Linked DNA regions of Homo sapiens: regions 2, 3, 4, 5, 6 and 7 are each linked to region 1. Evidence: promoter capture Hi-C in 16 types of primary human blood cells and fetal thymus (Javierre and others, 2016). All regions are on one chromosome and are shown on one strand. The core of a region is centred on a gene start or on the middle of the fragment in contact, and the rest is flanking DNA. Distances in the headings are between cores, read along the strand shown.

Evidence for each region. Contacts are between HindIII fragments. The CHiCAGO score rates a contact against its expected background, and 5 or more counts as called.
Region 2: a fragment that was not itself captured here is called in contact with the fragment with the promoter of ZNF669 in region 1 in 2 of 17 cell types (neutrophils and monocytes); the score reaches 6.1 in neutrophils.
Region 3: a contact is called between a fragment that was not itself captured here and the fragment with the promoter of ZNF669 in region 1, in 1 of 17 cell types (fetal thymus). The highest score is 6.3, in fetal thymus.
Region 4: a fragment that was not itself captured here is called in contact with the fragment with the promoter of ZNF669 in region 1 in 11 of 17 cell types (fetal thymus, total B cells, naive CD8 T cells and 8 more); the score reaches 12.0 in fetal thymus.
Region 5: a contact is called between a fragment that was not itself captured here and the fragment with the promoter of ZNF669 in region 1, in 3 of 17 cell types (neutrophils, monocytes and M2 macrophages). The highest score is 8.9, in neutrophils.
Region 6: a fragment that was not itself captured here is called in contact with the fragment with the promoter of ZNF669 in region 1 in 3 of 17 cell types (naive CD8 T cells, total CD4 T cells and M2 macrophages); the score reaches 5.9 in naive CD8 T cells.
Region 7: a contact is called between a fragment that was not itself captured here and the fragment with the promoter of ZNF669 in region 1, in 1 of 17 cell types (neutrophils). The highest score is 5.9, in neutrophils.

The regions. Positions count from the first base shown.
Region 1 is chr1:247,103,001-247,106,289 of GRCh38, forward strand. It overlaps ZNF669 (zinc finger protein 669), which reads right to left and starts at 1,356. Exons shown (of 4, transcript NM_001142572.2): 1 at 1,197-1,356. The coding sequence starts at 1,199. FLJ39095 (a long non-coding RNA gene) reads left to right here and starts at 1,511. Exons shown (of 3, transcript NR_147502.1): 1 at 1,511-2,640; 2 at 2,993-3,151. RefSeq lists an enhancer at 1,307-1,601. The HindIII fragment of the contact is 5,762 bases long and covers 1-3,289 here.
Region 2 is chr1:246,864,507-246,867,688 of GRCh38, forward strand. It overlaps AHCTF1 (AT-hook containing transcription factor 1), which reads right to left. Exons shown (of 36, transcript NM_001323342.2): 25 at 3,155-3,182; 26 at 2,738-2,845. Among named protein-coding and RNA genes, the nearest start is that of AHCTF1, 66 kb to the right of the region's middle. The HindIII fragment of the contact is 1,818 bases long and covers 569-2,386 here.
Region 3 is chr1:247,316,802-247,320,126 of GRCh38, forward strand. All of the region lies in intron 6 of ZNF496 (zinc finger protein 496), which reads right to left. Among named protein-coding and RNA genes, the nearest start is that of ZNF496, 13 kb to the right of the region's middle. The HindIII fragment of the contact is 951 bases long and covers 1,546-2,496 here.
Region 4 is chr1:246,926,509-246,929,950 of GRCh38, forward strand. The region is part of intron 1 of AHCTF1 (AT-hook containing transcription factor 1); the gene reads right to left. Among named protein-coding and RNA genes, the nearest start is that of AHCTF1, 3.7 kb to the right of the region's middle. The HindIII fragment of the contact is 4,526 bases long and covers 1-3,442 here.
Region 5 is chr1:246,905,392-246,908,466 of GRCh38, forward strand. AHCTF1 (AT-hook containing transcription factor 1) reads right to left here. Exons shown (of 36, transcript NM_001323342.2): 5 at 2,160-2,367; 6 at 150-266. Among named protein-coding and RNA genes, the nearest start is that of AHCTF1, 25 kb to the right of the region's middle. The HindIII fragment of the contact is 7,654 bases long and covers 1-3,075 here.
Region 6 is chr1:247,301,063-247,304,382 of GRCh38, forward strand. ZNF496 (zinc finger protein 496) reads right to left here. Exons shown (of 10, transcript NM_032752.3): 10 at 1-214. Among named protein-coding and RNA genes, the nearest start is that of ZNF496, 29 kb to the right of the region's middle. The HindIII fragment of the contact is 5,941 bases long and covers 1-3,320 here.
Region 7 is chr1:246,887,879-246,891,109 of GRCh38, forward strand. AHCTF1 (AT-hook containing transcription factor 1) reads right to left here. Exons shown (of 36, transcript NM_001323342.2): 16 at 3,078-3,182; 17 at 2,088-2,181; 18 at 516-639; 19 at 299-355. Among named protein-coding and RNA genes, the nearest start is that of AHCTF1, 42 kb to the right of the region's middle. The HindIII fragment of the contact is 4,757 bases long and covers 1-3,231 here.

The sequences.
Region 1 (3,289 bases), core at 106-2,605:
TTTTAGGCAAGAAAAACTAGTTTTTCATACCTAGTAAAAATGACAAATGTCTAATGATTTTCAGTCATCTAAAAAAAGAGTTATGTCTTGCCTAACATACTTTTAAGATTTTCAACCAAAAATATTCAGGACAGCACAGTATTAGCAGAGAGATGAGCAAGCAGACCAAGGGCTGAGGACACAACACCCTGTAAAGTTTTCACAGGGGGACATCAACCTAAAGACATTTTGGTAATATGCACACTTAGGAAAGATGAAGAGAGGCACAAAGATTTTTTTACAGTAGAGTGTCAGATGGTTTATTCTCCGCTTTCCTCTCATGTAAAATGTTTGTAAACAGAAAAATATTTTGGCCGAGCGCGGTGGCTCACGCCTGTAATCTCAGCGCTTTAGGAGGCCGAGACGGGCGGATCACTTAAGGTCAGGAGTTCGAGACCAACCTAGCCAACATGGCGAAACCCTGTCTCTACCAAAAATACAAAAATTAGCTGGGCGTGGTGGCGGGCGCCTGTAATCCCAACTACTCGGGAGGCTGAGGCAGGAGAATCGCTTGAACCCGGGAGTCAGAGGTTGCAATGAGTGAGACTGCATCATTGCACTCCAGCCTGGCGACAGGGCGAGATTCCGTCTCCAAAAAAAAAAAAAAAAAAAAAAAAAAAGAATATGGTTTGCTTCCTCATTAACCTTATCAAAGCCTCTCATTTACGCCCCTTCTGTGGACCCCAAACCACAAACCATGACTGCGGTACCTGGTTTATGAATCGCCGTTTGCTCAAACACACGGTTTAACGTTTTAACAAAGCCTCGGCTTAATTTTAGGGGAAGAAAGGTGGGACTGGAAGCCCCATGAACCACAGCTCCTCCCATGCTGGAACCCCGCACACCGAGACACCGAGTCGGGGCTCTCCCGCATCACCCTCCCGTGGTCACCACACTACCTGGATAGGGGAGGCGAGGGGTTCCCGACAGGGCTCCGGCCGGCGGAAGTGGCGCCCGCAGGTACAGACAGGATGCAGGGGTTCCGCTGCCCGCCCCGCCCGGCCCGGCCCTGAACAGAAGAGGACTGAGCCCCGGCTACGCCACGGCGACTCGGTCCGCAGGTTCCGGAGCCGATGGCGTGGAGGCCCGAGTCGCGCCACAGCAGGTTTCAACCAGCCCTCTTCTCCACTTCGGGAAGCCAGGCGCAGTCCACTCACCATTCCTCGGCTTCCCGGGTGTCCTGGCGTCAGCTAGGGATGTCCCAATACTCGCAGGTCACAGGGTGGCAGAGGCTGCTGCAGAGCCACCTGGGCCTCCCAGAGCCAAGAACTAGCAGCGGAGACTAACAGGAAGAGCCGGCTCCGGCGAAGGAGAGACAAAGCAACCGCCAGGCAGATCCCGGAAGCCGCCCTCTCCTTTCCGGCGGCGCGCCTGATTGAACGGTCCCCACCCCAGCGCCCCTGATTGGATGGGGCTTCAGGCCCCGCCCCTCAGGCCCTGAGTGACAGGAGATTGCGATCTCACGTGAGGCTGGATGAGGTCAGAATGACCGCTTTTGGCCTAGCGGTTTGTAGGCGGTGCGTCCTTCCTGCGCTGGGATCCGACCATGCAAGAAGGACATTCACATTTAACCTGTATACAAGTTATAGCTATTTGTGCCTTTTATATATATATATATATATAAAATTGGAAGCAATATAATGACAGTTCTGTAACTGCCCAGGGAGTTCACCTTGCCCGCTACCTAGACAGAGCCGATTTCTCAAGACAGGGGAATAGCAATAGAGAAAGAGTAATTCACGCAGTGTCCTCTGTGCGGGAGACCGGAGTTTTTTTATTTTATTTTATTTTTTTGAAACAGAATCTTGCTCTGTCTCCCAGGCTGGAGTGCAGGCTTGGAGTTTTATGATTATTCAAATCAGTCTCCCTGAGCATTTGGGGTAAGAGTATTTAGAACGTTTATTTTGCCAAGGTTGGGGATGCATATGCATGACACAGCCTCAGGATGTCCTTGATGACATGTGCCCAAGGTGGTCAGAGCACAGCTTGGTTTTGTTGGAGAGAAATGCTCGGTGCCGCAAAGTGAAACCAGCACTCAAGCGAAAGTTTTCTCAGCAACGCAATTTACTTCTGCAGAAGCGTGCTGCTCGCATCAATCACGATCGCAAGAGCACACTGAACAGAGGAAAGCAGGGGTTTTTATTCCTAACGCAGTCCCTACCTCTGGCATGGGCTGGGGTCAGACCGCACGATCTAAACTGACCCGGTTGGCTATTTGTGAATATTTTCCCAAATAAGGAAGGGGGAAGGGGGATGTGAGTTACAATGGTGGGACTTGCGGTTTCCAAGGGAGAAATGGGTGCAGAGCAGGTAACCAAGGGAACAGATGTGAGTTATTGATTAGAACTGACGGAAGGTTGTTTACAGTAACTAAGGGCAAGGAGGCATGGAGAACAAGAAAGTTGAGTTCGAAAACAAAAAAACAAGAAAGTTAACATGCCAAACCTTGGAAGAGAAACTGACTGTATCTGACAGCTTTATACATTTTAGGGAAACAGGAGACATCAATCAACATATGTAAGATGAACACTGGTTTGATCCGGGACAACCTGAAGCAAAAGCGGGTCAACTCGAAGCCAGGAGGGGGCTTCCAGGTCACAGGTAGGTGAGAGACAAACGGTTGCATTCTTTTGAGTTTCTGATTAGCCTTTCCAAAGGAGGCAATAAGATATGCATTCATCTCAGTGAGCAGGGGATGACTCTGAATAGAATGGGAGGCAGGTTTGCCCTAAGCAGTTCCCAGATTGACTTTCCCCTTTAGCTTAGTGATCTGGGGGGCTCAAAACATTTTCCTTTCCAATTTCCCCCTTTTCTTTTAAAAATATTTTGGAGAAAGCATTTTAGAAGAAAATCAGTCTCTGGTCCCAGGTTTTGTCCAATCTCTCATGGAGTAGCTGGGATTACAGGCACTGGACACCACGCCTGCCTAATTTTTTTTTTTTTTTTTTCGTAGAAATGGGGTCTCCCTCAGTTGCCCAGGCTGGTCTCTGGTGCCCAACGCCGGGCTCCCGGTAATCTCTACAAATAATCCAGTGAAGGAATGCCAGAGAGTGGAAAGTGGAGGATGACTGACAAAGGACGCCCGAGTACGTTTTCACTTCAAGCTCTACAGGTAAGTAGGGCGCTCGGAAAATTCCAGGGTAACCTCCGGAAACTATGGGTCAGGCTGAGAGTAAGTTTGCTAATTACTGAAGCCTTGTCCGGCAGTTACTGCGCCGCGGAGGGGTAATTGTGAGTACCCAAAATCTCC
Region 2 (3,182 bases), core at 228-2,727, 240 kb before region 1:
ATCCATTCACCTACATGTAATATATATAATGAATATTGGTTCATTTTGCCTTTATGGTTCTGATTACAATAAAGACTAGACTGACTTGGGAGGCCGAGGCGGGTGGATCATGAGGTCAGGAGATCGAGACCATCCTGGCTAACAAGGTGAAACCCCGTCTCTACTAAAAATACAAAAAAAAAAATTAGCCGGGCGCGGTGGCGGGCGCCTGTAGTCCCAGCTACTCGGGAGGCTGAGGCAGGAGAATGGCGTGAACCCGGGAAGCGGAGCTTGCAGTGAGCCGAGATTGCGCCACTGCAGTCCGCAGTCCGACCTGGGCGACAGAGCGAGACTCCGTCTCAAAAAAAAAAAAAAAAAAAAAAAAAAAAAAAAAAAAAAAAAAAGACTAGACTGACAACCCACACCCACCACCACAACCAAAAGTTAATTTTTTCAAGTCAATGAGTTTGGTGACAAAGTACAACTTTAAGATTCTACTACAAGGTTTTCCGTAATGTCCTAGTCCCAATGATAAAACTGATCCCACTGATTACTTGTACTGAGCATGTATAATCCAAGTAAGTTTTAAAGCTTAATTTACAGATAAATTTAAACTCAAAAGTCGGGTTTTCAGGTGGTAATTTTTGGTGGACCATTTGCACAGGTCACTCTCTTCTCGATTTCCTAATAAACAGTCTATCTTATGGTTGTATTTCCTAGTGGTAAAAACAATCCCTTTTTATTTCCCCCAAATGCCAAAGTGGCTCACCTGAGAATAACCAGAAAAGGAGAGTATGCTTTGGAGCCCAGAAATAAAAACTTGTAGTTGCAGTACCTTCCTTGTCATTCTATCTATCAAATGAGAGTTTTGCTATTAGGAGCGGTAGACCAACACAGGTGATAATGGGGAAATATTTCAATGTCTTCCCACTTGTTACTCTGTATCAAACACAGCTTTTAGATTTCCACCAAACCAAGAATATCCAATCAGGCTGCTAGACATTTCTTTTCTTCTAGATTCTCTTCTTTCTCTATCTTGTTTGCATTTAAATTCTGTACTTGGATTCGATCCAAACTTGGAAAACAGTTTGCTCACTTTTATACTGAGCTATCCCAAAGGAACACTGTTAAATGTTTTGCATTGTGTTAATATTTATGTTTAAGGCACCTATTTATGAATGAATGCTTCTCAAAAGCAAGGACTGTGCAACAAAAGCTACCTACCAAGTCAAAGCAAAACTTCTGTATCATCAAGACTTAATAGTTTAAAGGTTCTGAGAAATCTTTTTAAGGTATTTTCTAAATGAAATGTTAAATATTGCATTAGGTCTCAGGTCTTCAACCCTGAGACCAAATATTCTTTCAGAACTAACCTTTTCTGATTTCATTACTATCTGCAAGGTTATTTTCAAAAATCTATAGTGGTATTTAAAAAATTGATTTATGTAACTTTTTACTTGTTAGAGCTAATTTTTTTTTACCATAATCCATATAAAGAATGCATCCTATATCACATAAAAATAAAACATCAATTACATAAATTAGCACTTCAGCCTTACTATATGATGTACCCACGGATGTTATCTATTCTGCCTTATTTCATTGCAGGCTATACTGTCTACCCAGTAATGCAAACTCAGCATGAAAAACACAGAAGGTAAATATTCAAAACTCAACTGGCTCTCTTACATCTGAGTTAACACTGGCTTTAAAAAATGCTCATAATACTTCTTTAAGGGCCTCAGGCCATTAATCAAAGGCCTTTCAACTTCTATTATTGCTCCCCGCAACCTCAGAGCCATTAAATTACAAAAAGACCAAGAAAAGGGGACTTGCAGAAAAAAAAATCCGAACTATTGGTAGAAAAAAAGAATGTCGGTAATAACGACTTTCATTTAAAATATCTTCTTTCCATTTAAAATACCATCTTACCAGAGTAAATAAAGGGAAACAACCTAACTAAATTTAGTCCAAAAAAAGAAAAATCCTTTCAAGGTTTAACATATGTCCATTAAACTACACTCTGTACTTCTGGCCTCAGTTGTTTGTATGACCTTATCTCAAGTATCTTTTTCTTAGCATCAAAAATTCAGAGTCTTGTAATGATTATTTATAATCATTATAAATACTTTAAACAATGTAATTTTGTCTTTGATAAAACAATCAAAAATTTCCAAAGATCCTGGGCATATTAAGGACAAAGAATCAATACATGAAGAGACATACTCTGTTCTCTGTGGTACATAATTATGAACACTTTTCAACTAACCAATGCTCGTAAGTAAATACTTGCAATCACAATTTCATCTTGGATACAAAACTTCAACTTAACACCACAGGTAAGATGTAAACGTGCTGCATCTGAAGCAACACAAGACATTTTAGTAGGCACTGTTCAACAGAAGAAAGCTTCAATGAGCTACCCAAGATTAATCTGTAATTAAGTATAAAAACAACCCTCATTTAGAGGTCTACTAACAAGCAGGTAACAAGGAAAGTAAGTTAATAGTTTGCTCATGAGACAAACTTCACTCCTGTCCACTAAGCAGTCTGAAATTATTGAACAAAAATTTTAAGTATACTACTACCTGATGTAAAATTTCCTAAAATTACTGCTGCCCAAAGTATAATAAAAAGCAAACATTAAAATATTCATTTAATAATTTAAAAGTCTATAAAATGTTAAAGATAATTAAAAATTACAATTGTAACTATCATCTAACATTGTGTCTCTAAGAATGATTTAATAAACTCTTACCTAGAAATTTTTTGTGATGCTTTTGAAATTGGTGTTCCAAAAAATGCCTCAGGCAGCTCTGGAGCTGGGAGCGAATACACTATAGGAGATGGTTCTTCTATTTTAGAACTATGAAAATAAAAATTTAACTTCTGATGTATCACAAGGAGCACTGATAACAAGTGGATGAGATGGGAGAACAGAGGGTTTTCATTCGTTTTACTTTGTACAGTTCTGCATTGCTTACAAATAATAATGAACATTTCACTTTTAAAGGTTTTTAAAAATTCTTCTCAGAAACATAGCCAACATAAAGAGTTTTTCTTTTTTACATACACTAATAAACTTAGGCAAAGAGAGTGGATTGTTGATGAACGCTGTTGATGTCCAGTAAAGATTAACAAGCAGCATGACTATGAAACGTGTAAGAAAACATACCTATTGAAAGGTGTGGTGCTATTTATAG
Region 3 (3,325 bases), core at 771-3,270, 210 kb after region 1:
GGATCCCCAGGGAGCTTTTAGAACCATATGGACCAATGCTTACATGCTGGGGAGGAGCATAAAAACAGGACATTGATCTACAGCGGGATCCTTTTATTTGTGATCGATTTATTTGTGAGGCACACAAATAAATTGGCAGAGAAAAGTCCAGAAGGAAGTTCACTAGACCATGCAGAATCTTCTCACATGACTGGGGATGAGTGGTATCTTTTCACTTCCTACATTTTGTTAATTTTTCACGAGAAGGGATGGGCAAGATAGATAAACATGTCTATTTAAGATTAAATCTTCAGAGGAGATTTTTCTAATGCTTCCCAACTAAGTAGAATGAAAACCCTGGACATTGCATATAAAATGAGCACAGGAGACTCTGAAAGGTGGAGAGAGGGTGGCAGAATGGCCAGGGACCTTGGAACAGTATGTGCTAAGTTCACTGGTTTTTCTTTCTACCACATATTCCCCTGACTTGAAGCCGAAGGAGCCAGCTACCAAGAAATACCCATGGGCACAGACCAAAAAAAGCTCCAACAAAAGCCACAGGACCTGGACAGGGGCAGCCCAGCCAAACAGGTAATAACTGCTCTACTCCACTTAATACCACATAAGAAAACTGTGGCCCCTTCTTACCAACACCAGCAGAGAATGACTGGGGAGCCTAGACTTCCACCCTCACCAGGTGCAATGAGGTGCCCTAACACCCCTGCTGGGGTGGTCTCAGAGAAGGCCAAATGCGGAGCTGGGACCTCCATCCCTGCTAGCTAAGAACAAGCCCCCCCCCCGCCACCAGTGGAGACCATGTAGGGAGCTGGAACTCCACTCCCACTCGGGTGTATGAGGAGCATCCCCACTTTGATGCCCGCGGAGATCCAGGAGGAAACCTGACGTTCTCTCACCAGGTAATAACAAGTGGTGGCCCACCTGCCCTTCTCTTGCTGGAGCTATGTCAAAAACAACACTGCACAACCAAACAAAACCAGCCACACCGAAGTTAAGGTCCAGAGTCTCATCATATAAAAATATGCAGGCAGAAAATCACTCACTATACCAAGATCTGAAACTGAATGAATAAAGATAACCACCAACAGATGCCAACCCTCAGGTGACAGATACGTTAGAACTATCTGACAAAGAAGCTGTCATAAAATGCTTCAATGAACAATTATAAGCACACTCCAAACAAACGAAAAAATAGAAAGTGTCTGTAAAGACACAGAAAGTCTCAGCAAAGAAACTGAAGATACAGAAAATAACTAACTGGAAATGTGAACAGTACAAACCACAATATGAAATAAGAAGCTCAGTGAATAGGCTCAGCTGAGGAGGGGACAGAAGAAAGACTCAGTCAACTTGAAGACGGAAAAATAAAGTTATTCCATCTGAACAACAGAGAGAATACAGGCTGAAAAAAAATGAACAGTCTCAGGTACCTTTATAAATTACACAGTTTCTAACAAGAGATCTAAAACCTGTATCCTTAGCAGTCTGGAGAGGAGAAAGAGAGAGGGACTAAAAAAGTACTAGAAAAATCTAGCTTAAGAATTCCCAAGCTTGGAAAGAGACATAAACCTAGAAATGTAAGAAGCTGAGCAAACTCTAAACAGGTTAATCTAAAGAAATCCATAACAAGACACAGCATAATTTAACTTCTGAAAACTGAAGGCAAAGGAAGAAAAAAATCTTAAAGGTAGCCAGAGTAAAATAATACCTTCCTTACAGGGAAAAAGTTTTTGAATGACAGCAGATTTCTCATCAAAAGCCATGGAGGCCAGAAGGAAGTAACATAATATTTTTCAAGTGCTGAAAGAAAACTGTCAAGTGTGAATCTTTCATCTGGTGAAAACATCCTTCAGGAATGATGGGGAAATGAAGACCTACTAAGATGAGGAAAAAATATGTAAGTCTATCACCAGCAGATCTATCTTAAAAGAATGGCTAAAGAAACACTCTAAACAAAAAGCAGGAACCTTGGAACATAAGAAGAAAGAAAACAGTAAGCCACAATATGGGTAATAAATAGGTTTTCTTTTTCCTTTTGAGTTTTCTGAATAATGTTTGACAGTTGAAGCACAAATTACAACACTCTATGATGCGGTTCTAAATGTATGTAGAGGAAATATTTAAACAACTGCATTATAATGGGGAAGAAGGATGAGGGTATGTAAAAGGAGGTATATTATATTTCTTTCTTTTTCTTTTCTGATGGGGTCTCACTCTGTCACCCAGGCTGGAGTGCAGTGATGCAATCACAGCTTACTATGCAGCCTCAACCCCCTGGGCTCAGGCAATCCTTCTGCCTCAGCTTCCCAAGTAGCTGGCACTATAGGAGCACACCACCATTCCCAGCTAATTTTTTTAGAATTATTATTTGTAGAGACAAGGTTTCGCTATGTTGCCCAGGCTGGTCTCAAACTCCTGGGCTCAAGCAATCCTCCCACCTTGGCCTCTCAAAGTGCTGGGATTATAGGCACAAGCCACGGTGCCCGAACAAAGGAAATAAGCTTCTACACTTCACTCAAACTGATAAAATGATACTCAGTAGATAAGTTATGTATATATAATGTAATACTTAGAATAACCACTAAAAAAGCTATACAAAAATATACATACACTCAACACCACACTAGGTAAATCGAAATGGAATTCTACATGTTCAAGTAACACACAGAAAAATAGGAAAAAGGAAACAGAGAAACAGAAACAGAGCCAGAAAAACAGAAAGACAAACTTAAGCCCTAACATGTCGGTAATGACATTAAATACAAATGGTCTACATACATCAATCAAAACACAGTAACTGGCAGAGTAGATTAGAAAACATTATCCAAATATATACTATCTAGGCCGGGTGCAGTGGCTCACACCGGTAATCCCAGCACTTTTGGAGGACGAAGCAGGTGGATCACGTGAGGTCAGAAGTTCAAGACCAGCCTGGCCAACATGGTGAAACCCTGTCTCTACTAAAAATACAAAAATGAGCCGGGCCTGGTGGTGCGCGCCTGTAGTCTCAGCTACTCGGGAAGCTGAGGCAAGAGAACTGCTTGAACCCAGGAGATGGGGGCTCCAGTGAGCTGAGATCGCGCCACTGCACTCCAGCCTGGGTGACAGAGTGAGACTCCGCCTCAAACAAAATAAAACAACACATATATACTATCTAAAAGTAACTTACTTCAGATATAATAATATAAGCAGGTTGACTGTAAAAGGATGGAATAAATATATTATGCAATTATTAATCAAAAGAAAGAAGAAAAGCTATATTAACATCAGATAAGAGTACTTTCTTACAAAACTTACCAACTTTTGTACTTACCAACGATTGCATACC
Region 4 (3,442 bases), core at 885-3,384, 180 kb before region 1:
TTTAAGACTTTTCCAATTTAAGCACACTACAGAGAACATCGAAACACTCTATTATTAGAAATAGGGGCCAGGCGCGGTGGCTCACACCTGTCATCCCAGCACTTCGGAAAGCTGAGGTGGGTGGATCACCTGAGGTCAGGAGTTCAAGACCAGCCTCACTAACAGGGTGAAATCCCGTCTCTACTAAATACAGAAAACTAACCAGGTGTGGTGGCGCATGCCTATAATCCCAGCTACTTTGGGAGGCTGAGGCAGGAGAATCACTTGAACCCGGGAGGCGGAGATTGCAGTCAGCCGACACTGCACCATTGCACTCCAGCCTGGGCAACAAGAGCGAAACCCCGTTTCAAAACAAACAAGTCTCAAAACAAACAAAAGTGTATGGCCGGGCCGCGGTGGCACACGCCTGTAATCCCAGCACTTTGGGAGGCTAAGGCGGGCGGATCACGAGGTCAGGAGATCGAGACCATCCTGGCTAACAAGGTGAAATCCCGTCTCTACTAAAAATACAGAAACAAAATTAGCAGGGCGTGGTGACGGGAACCTGTAGTCCCAGGTACCCGGGAGGCTGAGGAGGGAGAATGGCGTGAACCCGGGAGGCGGAGCTTGCAGTGAGCCAAGATCGTGCCACTGCACTCCAGCCTGGGCGACAGAGCGAGACTCTGTCTCAAAAAAAAAAAAAGAAAGAAATAGGCCAGGCACTGTGGCTCACACCTGTCATCTCAGCACTTTGGGAGGCCAAGGCGGGAGAATGGCTGAGGTCAGGAGTTGGTTAGAGACCAGTCTGGCCAACATGGTGAAACCCCGTCTCTACTAAAAACAAGAAATGTAGCAGCCAGCCACGGCTGCATACGCTTGTCATCCCGACTACTTGGGAAGCTGAGGCATGGGAATCGCTTGAACCGGGGAGGTGGAGGTAGCTGTGAGCTGAGATGGTGCCACTACACTCCAGCCTCAGCAACACAGCCTGACTGTCTCAAAAAGAAAAACTATATTATTAGAAAGAATATCTCATATAAAGGTATATGAAAACACAAACACACATGAAACACCTACGTTCAGTACTGTACAAAATTAAACAGAATCCCAGCCTTTTATGACATGCCAGCACTGGCAACCTATAAAAAGTAATTTACTAAGTTTCAATTCCTTTCCAAAGGCTAGATAGGCAGAGCAGGAACGTTCTACTGGCTTTGAATGAAGATACTGTTCATGGCCGGGCGCGGTAGCTCAAGCCTGTAATCCCAGTACTTTGGGAGGCCGAGGCTGGCGGATCACAAGGTCAAGAGACCCAGACCATCCTGGCCAACATGGTGAAACCCTGTCTCTACTAAAAATACAAAAATTAGCTGGGCGCGGTAGCGCGCTGTAGTCCCAGCTACTTGGGAGGCTGAGGCAGGAGAATCGCTTGAACCTGGGAGGCAGAGGTTGCAATAAGCCAAGATCACGCCACTGCACTCCAGCCTGGCGACAGAGCAAGACTCCGCCACCAAAAAATTAATTAATTAATTAAATTAAATACTGTTCGGCCGGGTGCGGTGGCTCACGCCTGTAATCCCAAGGCAGGTGGATCACGAGGTCAGGAGATCGAGACCATCCTGGCTAACACGGTGAAACCCCATCTCTACTAAAAATACAAAAAAAATTAGCCGGGCGTGGTGGTGGGCACCTGTAGTCCCAGCTACTGGGGAGGCTGAGGCAGGAGAATGGCATGAACCCGGGAGGCGGACCTGGCAGTGAGCCGACATCGCGCCACTGCACTGTAGCCTGGGCGACAGAGCGAGACTCCGTCTCAAAAAAAAAAAAAAAAAAAAATTACTTCTGCTTGCCTGTCTTCTCCACTACACTATGAATTCCTAAAAGGCAAAAATCACCAAATCTTATTCCTGGGCATTCGACAAGGTCACAGTGCCTTTGGACTAACAGGTCCTAAATGTAATAAATTAGGATAACAGGATACTGTATAGCAGGATATTATTAGGATACTAGCAGAGACAAGAAATAGGCATGTTAAACAATAAAATCAATTTTTTAAAACTCAAGATTGGGCCCAATTATTTTTAAGTATACACTGGTTCAGTATTAAACAAAACAAAATTCTTAAAATTACTAGGCCAGATACTAAAAACAGAATACTATAAATCAGTTTTCTGTGTGAAATACACAAATTCCTGCAGTAACTGAATTCCACCACAGAAAATGGAACTCTAATCTAGTTCAACAATTATATTGCAACATGTACCAAGCAAACATTTCTATAAACCACTTTGTATGCAATGGTACTTTTTTTCTTTTTGACTAATAAAAAGACGAATTGTCATTTAAATGTAAACTACCAGTGGACCCAGAAACTTCAAGCCTTTCAGAAATTTCTTACCAACTTAATTCAAACATTTTAAAATCACAAACTACTTTTAAAACACCGTGTTAGTAAAGGAATGCAAGGTCAAGAAGATAACCTTCTTCCTGACTTTAAGGAGTTTACAATCTAGAAAAGGAGATATATAGTCAATTATCAGAGTATCAGACACAAAGAATAAATGCTACTACAATAGAGGTACATATGCTGTGAGATCCCAGTAAAAAAGTGGGATAAGGGGAAATAAAAGAGTACAGTGGGCTGGGTGCGGTGGTTCACGCCTGTAATCCCAGCACTTTGGTTGGCCGAGGTGGGCAGATCGTCTGAGCTCAGGAGTTCGAGATCACCCTGGGCAACATGGTGAAACCCCGTCTCTACTAAAATACAAAAAATTAGCCGAGTGTGGCGGCGCGTTCCTGTAGTCCCAGCTACTCGGGAGGCTGAGGCACAAGAATCGCTTGAGCCCTGGAGGCGAAGGTTGCAGTGAGCCAAGATCACGCCATTGCACTCTAGCTTGGGCTACAAAGTGAGACTCCGTCTCAAAAAAATAAAAATAAAAATAAAAATACAGTGAAAACATTGGATTTAGAAGGAGGACCTGAAATTTGAGTATTTAAAAAAGGAAAGATGGCACTCCAGGATGAAGGACATGAGCAAAGAAACATCAGAGTGGAAACATCTCTTCCACAGAATGAGTCCAGGATTGATGACGATTCTGGAATAGCAAAAGCATAAAATTTGTTAACATATGAGGATAGACAGTAGCATATACTTATTGTAGAGACCTTTGAGCTAACCGAGGGAAGTTACACTTCATTCTGGGAAGAAAGAAAAGTCCCTGAAAATATTAAAGGTAGGCGTGAAAGACACAACGTTTTGCTTCCTCTTAAAATATATCTGTACCAGCCGGGCGCGGTGGCTCACGCCTGTAATCCCAGCACTCTGGGAGGCCAAGGCGGGCGGATCACGAGGTCAGAAGTTCAAGACCAGCCTGGCCAATATGGTGAAACCCCGTCTCTACTAAAAATACAAAAATTAGCCGGGTGTGGTGGCGTGCGCCTGTAATCCCAGCTACTCAGGAGG
Region 5 (3,075 bases), core at 576-3,075, 200 kb before region 1:
GGAGGCTGAGCGAGAGAATGGCATGAATCCGGGAGGCGGAGGTTGCAGTGAGCCGAAATCACGCCACTGCACTCCAGCCTGGACAACAGAGCGAGACTCTGTCTCCAAAAAAACAAAACAAAACAAAACAAAGTTTGTATGAGACCTACCTATCTTGTGTAGACTGAACAGCCCACAAGTAACAGCAATTCCGAGGATCATTCTCAGGTTCTTGAAAAGTGACAGCATATACAGGAACTTGTCCACTTTCCAATTGTATGTAATATCTGAAACAAATTAGTATATTTCATATTTTTAAGTTATTTTTTAGAAAGGAAAAAGGTACATCATGTAAGAACTTGGGTTAGGCAACCACTGTTCCTACACTTCCCCAGAATAAGTGATCTGTGGGCCATGGCCAAGTCATCTTATCTGCAAAAATACACACGGCACAAGACATCAAGACTATGGTCATGGCACCCATCCCCCAGAGACAGAACTGGGAAGACTCAGATGCAGTCAAGCGGATGCATTTATGTGTGCGTGTAACTGGTCCTAAGAGTCATATTCAATGCCCAAGAGGTAGAACTGGGGAGTGTTAGAATTACTCAAGTGGATGCATTCATGTCTGTGTAAACTGGTCCTAAGAGTCATATTTGATGTACACTCCTACATACTGCTCAACCATAAAAGATGCCCTACAAAGAGACGAGATACTGCCACGAGACTTTTCAGCTGTTTGGGTTTAGCATCAGTTTCCCCACTACTACAACAGAAGATGAGTTAGAAACTGAAGAGTTCCCATAAACTGCTAAAAAAGCAAAAATTGACCAAGAGATGATAGTGTTAGAGAAAGCACTGCTGTAGAAGCCAGGTACTGCAGGTATTTCTTTAGGAGCAAATTCAAAGACGAGCTGACAAACTGGCAGCCGGGCGTGGTAGCTCACACCTGTAATCCCAGCACTTTGGGAGACTGAGGCAGGTGGATCACAAGGTCAGGAGTTCGAGACCAGTCTGACCAACAAGGTGAAAATCCGTCTCTAAAAAAAAAAAATACAAAAACTAGCTGGGTTCAGTGGTGCACACATGTAATCCCAGCTACTTGGGAGGCTGAGGCAGGAGAATCACTTGAACTTGGGAAGTGGAGGTTGCAGTGAGCCAAGATCGTGCCACTGCACTCCAGCCTGGGCAACAGAGTGAGACCCCACCCCCCAAAAAAATAGAAAAAAAAGAGCTGATAAAAGGATAACAGCAAAGAGAGTTGAGATACACTTCCTATAAGATAAATTACTCAATAAAATATACCAGTATGCCTCAGGAAAAATGGAGAAACAAATAAATTGACAACTTAAGGGCCAAATAGGCATCTATTTAACGCTTAACACAAATTAACTTAGCTACAAAGTATCAATATAATTATATTTTGGGGACTTTTTGACAGCAGAAAAAATTTAAAACACAAGTATTTTGTAACTTTGATTTTTAAAAATCCTTTTTTTTCCCTCTCAACTGAGAATTCTTTATTAAGCTGTTACTTTACACAGATGATGATTAGGAAGGTACTTCTGAAAGAACTCATATTATACAAACACAGCCATGTGTCACTTAACAAAAGGGGATCTGTTCTGAGAAATGCTCGTCAGGGATTCAGTCATTGTGCAAACATCATACAGTCTAGTAACACAAACCTAGATGAGATAGCCTACTATATACCTAGGCTAGATGGTATAGCCTGTTGCTCTTAGTCTACTAACCTGTACAGCATGTTACTGTATGGAATACTGCAGGCAACTATAACACAATGGTATCTTAAACATTAAAAAGGTACAATCAAAATACAGTAAAATTTTATGAGACCCCTTTCTTACATAAGGACTGTTGTTGACCAAAACGTTGTAAAGTTACAAAGTCATGCTTTACTAGCATGTTAAACACATGACTGTAATGCCTTTTAAATAAACACTGAAAAAAAATAAAGCTAAATTCATGTGCTAAGTCACTCCTTTATGGTATTCACATTGATTTAATGCCATGAAAAATTAGTCATCTCAATCATTCATTCAATCATTAATCTACCCACCCTTTTCTCACTATGCTAACTTTCAAATATTAGTAAATGAGTACAAGCTATATGCAAAAAAACTACCTATAATCAAATAAGGGAAAAAAGTTATACTTACTCTCTTTTCATGCTTTTCATGTTCCAAAGTGCTAGATAGCCATCAGAAAAACCTACAGCAAGCTGATTTGTCCTGCTTATGTAACTAAGAGTTGAAACAGCTGTTCCTGTTGGACTTACTAACTGGAAACACAGATGGCGCCCTTGTCTCATTACACTTTCTCTAATGTGTGGTACTTCAGCTGGGATACCAGTTAGAACTTCAAGATCTAAAACCACAAATTAGACAAATGAAGTTAAAAAACTAGAAACAGCATTAAAAGCAAATATGTCATCCATTATTCAAGCTGCAAATGAAGTCAACTGAGTTAAATGAAGTTAATTGAAATTAAAAGATTAGTGATAACAAAAAAGTATGTTAAACTAGAAAATTGCCATCCTTATCTATTTAAATGCCACAATTTAAAAAACACATTCAATTATATAATATTTAAAAATTCTCTCAGTACATCTCAAATATTATCTAAGATAGAATTTTTTTAGGGTTAACAACCATAAATAAAACTGATTTATTTCTTTATTGAAATTTAGAACTACTACCTAAATACCTTCCTTGGAGCAATGGCTGATTCCGGGTCAGGGGGAAGAAAATACATAAAATGAGCCTGGTACATCTTATGCCAATAATCTAGGAAGCTATCACAGATGAAAGGGAATGTATCAGACAACATGAAGGGGCTCTCATTACCAATGACAGGACATTTTGGGCATCAAAAACAATAAAATTAATGAAACACATTAAATATGCCAAACCTGAAAAATTCACAGGGATACAAAAAAAAAAAAAAAAGAGGGGTGGGGCAAGGGGGAAGCCTACCCTCCCCACCTACAAAAGACCTTATATTGAACAATTGGAGTAACTAGGTATCACCTGCTTACTCTGAAAATTAGTACTTAAGAAACACTAAACATTTATC
Region 6 (3,320 bases), core at 433-2,932, 200 kb after region 1:
ACGTAGGACTTCTTGGAGGTCTGCACCTCGCCTCCGGCCTCGGTGCTGCTCCGGTGGGAGGCGGGGAGGCTGCGCTGCTTCTCTGTGGGGCTCCCCAGCTCTTCTGTGCAGTACGGGCCATGCTGGGAGTCCTCGTCCCCAGAGCTGGAGAGAACGATCTCGATGGTCACTTCTTCATCCAGGCTGTTCTCTAGAGATCGCGGGTTGCCGCCAGCTACAGGAAGGCAACATGCAGGTCAGCGACGCTGCACAGGCCACATCCCAGCCCCTATGACCGCGGCGGAGGAACACTCAGCTTGGAGTTTACAAACCCGTGTTTTTACAATGGTCCTCGGTGACCGGGGCGGCCTGGCCAGCCCTGCAGGGGCCACTGGTGTAGCCTGTGAGGAAGAAATCTTCAGCATGGGCCCCGCTGTGTCCAGAGCATGCTGGGCACCTTGCTCTCCCTCTTCCCAGCCATTTTCCCTTATCTCCACCCCCAACCCTTTTGTTCTCTACCCACGGAGACCACCCCATCCCCCCAAGCTCTAGGAGTCTGTATTTATCTGGGTAAAGCCTTGACCATTTACAGATCATGCACTTAACAAGGCATGGGGGAAAGCTCTATCAGGATAGTGAAAGGACTTGAGAGAGGAAGACTCTACAACCTACACATATCATGTGCTGGGCACTTGCATGCTCCAGGGACTGTGCTAGACTTGACATGCACATTCCTATTTGCTCCTGGACGCAACCCGATGACCTATTGGTTGCCATGTTTACACATAAACTAAGGTGATCTGTGCCAGGAAGGAGGGCTGAAATGCTACTCAGCCTTGCTAGGCTGCTCAACAGTCCCAGACTGCCCAGAGTCCTGGGTCCCCCACAGCTCCCCGGCTCCCAGTAGCACCGCATTTCTGAGGCCACAGGTGGTGATGGATAAAGCTGCTCTGGACTTCCTGCATCCTGAGTCTGTGATGTTGGGAAGGTGGAACCACGGGGCGGGGCTGGGTGGACAGTGCAGAGCCCGGCCTGAGGTCCCGGCTTATGGAGCAGAGCCCACCATACAGGTGGCCTGTTTCCTCACTGCTGTGAAATGTAGAACTCAAATCTAGAACTTGGGGGGAGTGAACCAGGCCCTCCCAGATAAGAGTAGGAACATGGTTAGTCTGGGCTTCATGACTGTGGGGAGGAGAGCCCTGGCTAGTCAGAGCAGCTCAGGACAGGAGAAGTTGGACAAACAGAAGCAGGGCAGGAAGACACAGAGGCTATGGAGAGCAGAGAGATAAAGGGCAATGGTGGAAGCGGAGGGGGCATTTGTCCCTCAGTCACAAGGGGGTCGGGGGAACATGAGTCTGGGAGTGGGTACTGAGTCTGCCAAGAACCCACGTAGTATAGGAGGGAAATCATCAGATGAAGACAGAGATTGTGTTTGTGTGTGTGCATGTGTTTTTAATTTTTTGTACAGATGGGGTCACATTATGTTGCCCAGGCTGGTCTCAAACTCCTGGGCTCAAGCGAGCCACCCATCTCAGGTGATCCACCTGCCTCAGCCTCCCAAAGTGCTGGGATTACAGGTGTGAGCCACTGCGCCCGCCGAGAGGCTATGTTTGACGCTTATCTCGACTCTTGGTTTTCGAGCTGCAGGAACCTCGTTCCAGCCAGACAGCTTCTCTGAGCTTGGGTCATCTCGTCTACAAGGTGAGAATGACAGTGGCAGCCCGTTGCTCTAAGCTGCTGGTGGGGCAGGTGAGGTCATGTGTATGATGTACTTTGTGGACCTCATGGGGTGGAGACAAGAGCAAGGTGTAACTTTTACCAGGCTGCCGATGACAAGGTACTTGATCAGCAGTTGACTTCTGTTAATGGACTTGGGTGGAAGAAGAAAACAAAGTGACAAGGTGGACCGCTAAGATCTCTTACTTGTTAACTGGGCGAGGAGATGGAATTATGAGAGCAGACAGTGCATGTTATGGGCGAAATTGTGTCCCCCTGAAAATTTACATGATGAAGCCCTAACCCATAGAGCCTCAGAATGTGATTACTTGGAGATAGGGTCTTTCAAGAAGTAATTAAGTCAAAATGAAGTCAGATGGTGGGGCCAATCCAAAATCACTGGTCTTCTAAGAGGAGGAGACTGGAGGCAGACTTCAACAGAGGGAAGGACCCTGTGAGGACACAGCAAGATGGGAGCCGTCTCCAAGACGAGAAAGGCCTTGGAAGACACCAGCTCTGCTGAAGCCTTGATTCTGGACTTGTTGCTTCTGGAATTGTAAGAAAGTAAGTTTCTGTTGTTTAAGTCACCCAGCCTGTGGTACCTTGTTATGGTAGCCACAGTAGACTAACATAGACTTTGGCACCAGGAAGTAGGGTGCAGCTAAAACAAAGACCAAAAACTGTCGAAGTGATTTTAGAACTAGGTCATGGGGAGAGGCCAGGAGAGTTCTGAAGTGCATGTTTAAAAAGCCTTGAGGAAGTGGCTGGTAGAAATACGGACGTTATAGGAAATTGGAGAAAAGGAGATCCTCCAATTATAAAGTGGCAAAGAATTTGGCCAAACCATATTCAACTGTTCTGTGGAAACAGAAATTGTAAGTAAGGAACTCGGATACTGAGCTGAGGAGGTATCGAAGCAAAGTGTCAAAGGCAAAGACTAGTTTTTTGCCGCTTATAGTGAAACGTGAGATGAGAGAGATAAACTGAAGAAGGAATTGTTGTAGCAAAAAGGAACCATGACTTCAAGATTTGGAAAATTCTGTCTATCCATACGGCAAAAAATAAGAAAGCGTGCACTGGAGAGACACCAAGAGTGTGGCTGGCTCATCATTTGTTAAAGAGATTCTGGGTATGATTCACGGATCCAATCAACCATCTCAACAGAAGCCAGGAACAGAGATGAGGTTATCCAGGAAGGTCTATGGAGGACACCCTCGTCTGACGGCCTGCAACCCTGTGGACTGCATGGAGGGCAGGGTTTCTGAGTATTATATACCAGCAGAAACACTGCCAGCTGGAACTGAAAGGAAAAGAGATGGGATGAAATAAAAGAAGGCTAGGACTTCTGGGATTCTACAAACTGGCCGATAGATCTATCTGGCTATGAATATGTACTATCCTTCAAGAAAAGGGAAGAATGACTCCAAAGGTGGCTCAGAGGTTACAGGACTGCCACTGTCATCATGGGACCAGAGAGTACAGGCTCAGGAGGTGAAGTCATTTCCTTCTGAGTTCCAAAGAGCAGGGCCAGTAGCCTGCTGGGCCTGGAGAACAGAGAACTGAGCCAGAGGTTATTGCTGAGCCTTAAAATCCCATGGAAATGACCTGCTAGATTTTTTTTTTTT
Region 7 (3,231 bases), core at 65-2,564, 220 kb before region 1:
TGGTAGTATTTTAGAGCAACTGTTGTTAACTTTTTGAGTGTCTTGGACACATTTAAGTGTCTGATAAAAGCCAAGTACCCTATACCTAGAAAAACAAATAAAAAACAAAATTTTTCATATAGTTTTAGGTTGATCACAGGCCATCTGAGCCCAAACAACAGATCCTGGGTTAACACCTCTTCTTAAGAAAACAAAACCAAAATTCAACCTTGCAATTAGATATGTCAGGTTTCCACTACTCTTGAAATTTTATAATTTTAGTAATACATGAAACACTGGATAAAACTTAAAAGGATACAATAGAGTGTTTGGCTGCTTCAGTAACGCCGTCTAATAGGTACATATCAAGTACTGCCTATAAAACAAAGGGATAAAACCTTCAGTGGATCTTATACAGTCATTCATTCATTCATGCTTCTTGTTTTCCCAAGTTTGTGCCAGACACACAGCTAAGCATGTCTCCTCCCTCCCCAGCTTTGTAGACTCTAAATGATAGCACATTACTGCAAACCTACATGCAGACTAGCAGGAGGATATTTTCCTGTGCCTCCTTCATCTCGTTTCCACAACTTCTCAATTCGCTCTCCTAACTGAGAAACCAGTCCATCAATCATCAAGCAATCGGGATTCCACTTCCCTCTGCAATCAGGGAAAAATTAAGACTTATTTAATATCACTGTTAATTAATATCAAAGCAACCAGCATCAAAATATTAAAAGTAATAATCCCAACTATCAAAGAGAGAAGAGGCTGGGCATGGTGGCTTATGTCTGTAATCCCAGTGATTTGGGAGGCCAAGGCAGGAGGATCAACTCAAGGTCAGGAGTTCGAGACCAGCCTGGGCAATACAGCAAGACCCCAGTTCTAAAGAAAATATAAAAACTAGCTGGGCATGGTGGTGTGCACCTGTAGTCCTAGCCACTCAGGAGGATAAGGAAGGAGGATCGTTGGAGCCCAGGAGTTTAAAGTGAGCTATACACATGCCACTGCACTGCAGCCTGGGCAACAGAGACCCTGTCTCTAAAAACAGAGAGAGAGGAGAGAATTGGGAATTTGACCCTAGTTAGCATGATGAGAACTACAGACATCAAGGAGAGTTAGTCGGATAAGCCCTTAATTTGCCTCAAGTTCAGTCATCAACAAGCCAGTCAGTCAAGGTGAGGTCCCCATGTGGTCCATCCAGCCAGTGACCATTCTATTTTTCACCATATTAAGCAAACTACCATAAAGCCCAGCGTAGTGAAAATAATGAAGTTCAAAGACAGAGAGTTAAAGTTTCTGTTTCATCACTTGGGTTAGTCTTTTATCCTCAGTGATTCCTTCACTCGAATATCTATTGCTGAGTGCCTATGATGCAACGTGCAGGTATGGTCCCTATTTCCTTTTCTTTTCTCTTCTTTTTTCCCCTGATTTCCTTTTCTAATTGTGAATAGCGGCAGCACTTACTACTCTTTGCGGTTGTCCAATGAGCCAGGCACTGCACTAGATGTCCTGCACATACTATTTTATTTAGCTTTATACTGACTTTATAACTTATATAACAAGCAGGATTAGAAAGCATAACAAAGCTGCCAAGGATATACACTTAGGAAATAACAGATCTAGAATTTTAAAATATGCCTAGTCAATCTCCCAAGCTAATGTTCACTCTCCTAAATTGGTCATTCTAAAGCACTGGTTCCCACAATTGCCATGCATCAGAATTACAGCCGGCACAGATTTTAAAGTACTGATTCCCAGGTGATTCAGGTGTAAGAAACCTGGAATCAACGTTTGTGGCACTGCTCTAAATGTTATATGCTTTGTAATTTTGTCACTGCAACTCGAGGAAGACGACTATTTCCAGAAGTGTGGTCAAGACTCTCAACACCACTTTCTTTGTCTATTACCTTTACTTCATTTCAAAGGAACTAAGTAGGTTATTCGTGTACTTTTTTAAAAAAGAGAAATAAAATAGTAATGGTAATAGCAAATTCTGATACTTAACTGAGAATTCTACCCATTTAATCACTTTGTAAAACGATGAACACTATTCTGAGAAACTTTGACTTCTTACAGATGTAATTTCTAAAATTGTTTTACTATACCTTGATAAACGCTCAAACTTCTGTCGACGACTGGTGTAGTAGTTCTGAATTACAGGGTAGTTGTAGCATAACCTTGACAACTGCACAGAATCATCTAGATTTTTAAGAGTTGGAAAAAAAGCTGGTAATAATCCCCAAATATCTCAACAATACATATTAATATTTTACTGTAATTTAATATTTACAGCAACCCCTGGTTAACCCACAGGGTGGGTATATTTAGGTAATAAAAGATTACTACACATCTTTTTATTTACAGAGGCACAAGTGAGAAAATGATCTGTCATGAAAGTCTAACTACATGGATGGGGGCTTAAAATCCTGGAAACTGTTCTAAATAACTTTACTCCTTAGGCACAAATAATAATTTGAAAGCAAGAAATGTTCACTACAAATCAAAATCTAAGAGAATTATGAAAAAATAAGATCAACAATTATGTACAGTGGCAGAGGCACTTCTAAATAAAATCTAATGGCTTCCTGGAAATGCAAGAAGCTGAAGGCTTTGCAAGTTATATTCTAAACAAATATAGCACAAGTCAAATACCAAAAATTATCTTATTGTTGGTACTGGCATAAATCACTAGATAAAAGGGGGTATTTAATTGAAGAAATATTAGTCAGTAACCATATTAAAAGGACCATTACCAGGAAACAGGAAAACTGAGTTATAGAAACTATAGTTCTATGGATCTAAATAATAGCTAGTAATATTGCTGAACTCATTTTCAGGAGCTATGTTTTCTCAAATTTGCTTTCCTTCTAAATGTTATTCAATCCAATAAACATGTATGAGCACTGTGTGTCAGGCATAGGATGAAGATACAAAGTAAGGAAAAATGTAAGAAAAGAAGGTTAAGCATAAATTAAATTAAGGAGAAAAATAAGTGAGGTGGAAGAAAAGAAACCCAAAGCATTAGAATACAATAACAAAATTATAAAGATTCAGAATGTTTTAATTAATACTTATAGATTAAGTAAATATTTTACCTATGCCTTCTGGTAAAAGCCCAGAATGAGAGAACCAAAGAACCACTTGTGCATACTGACAGATGAGGTGGGAAACCACAAACTTATTGCTTAAGTCTATCAGTCCTGTAAAGAAGAGTTAACATCAGTTGTTTACTTACAAAAAAATCAAGAT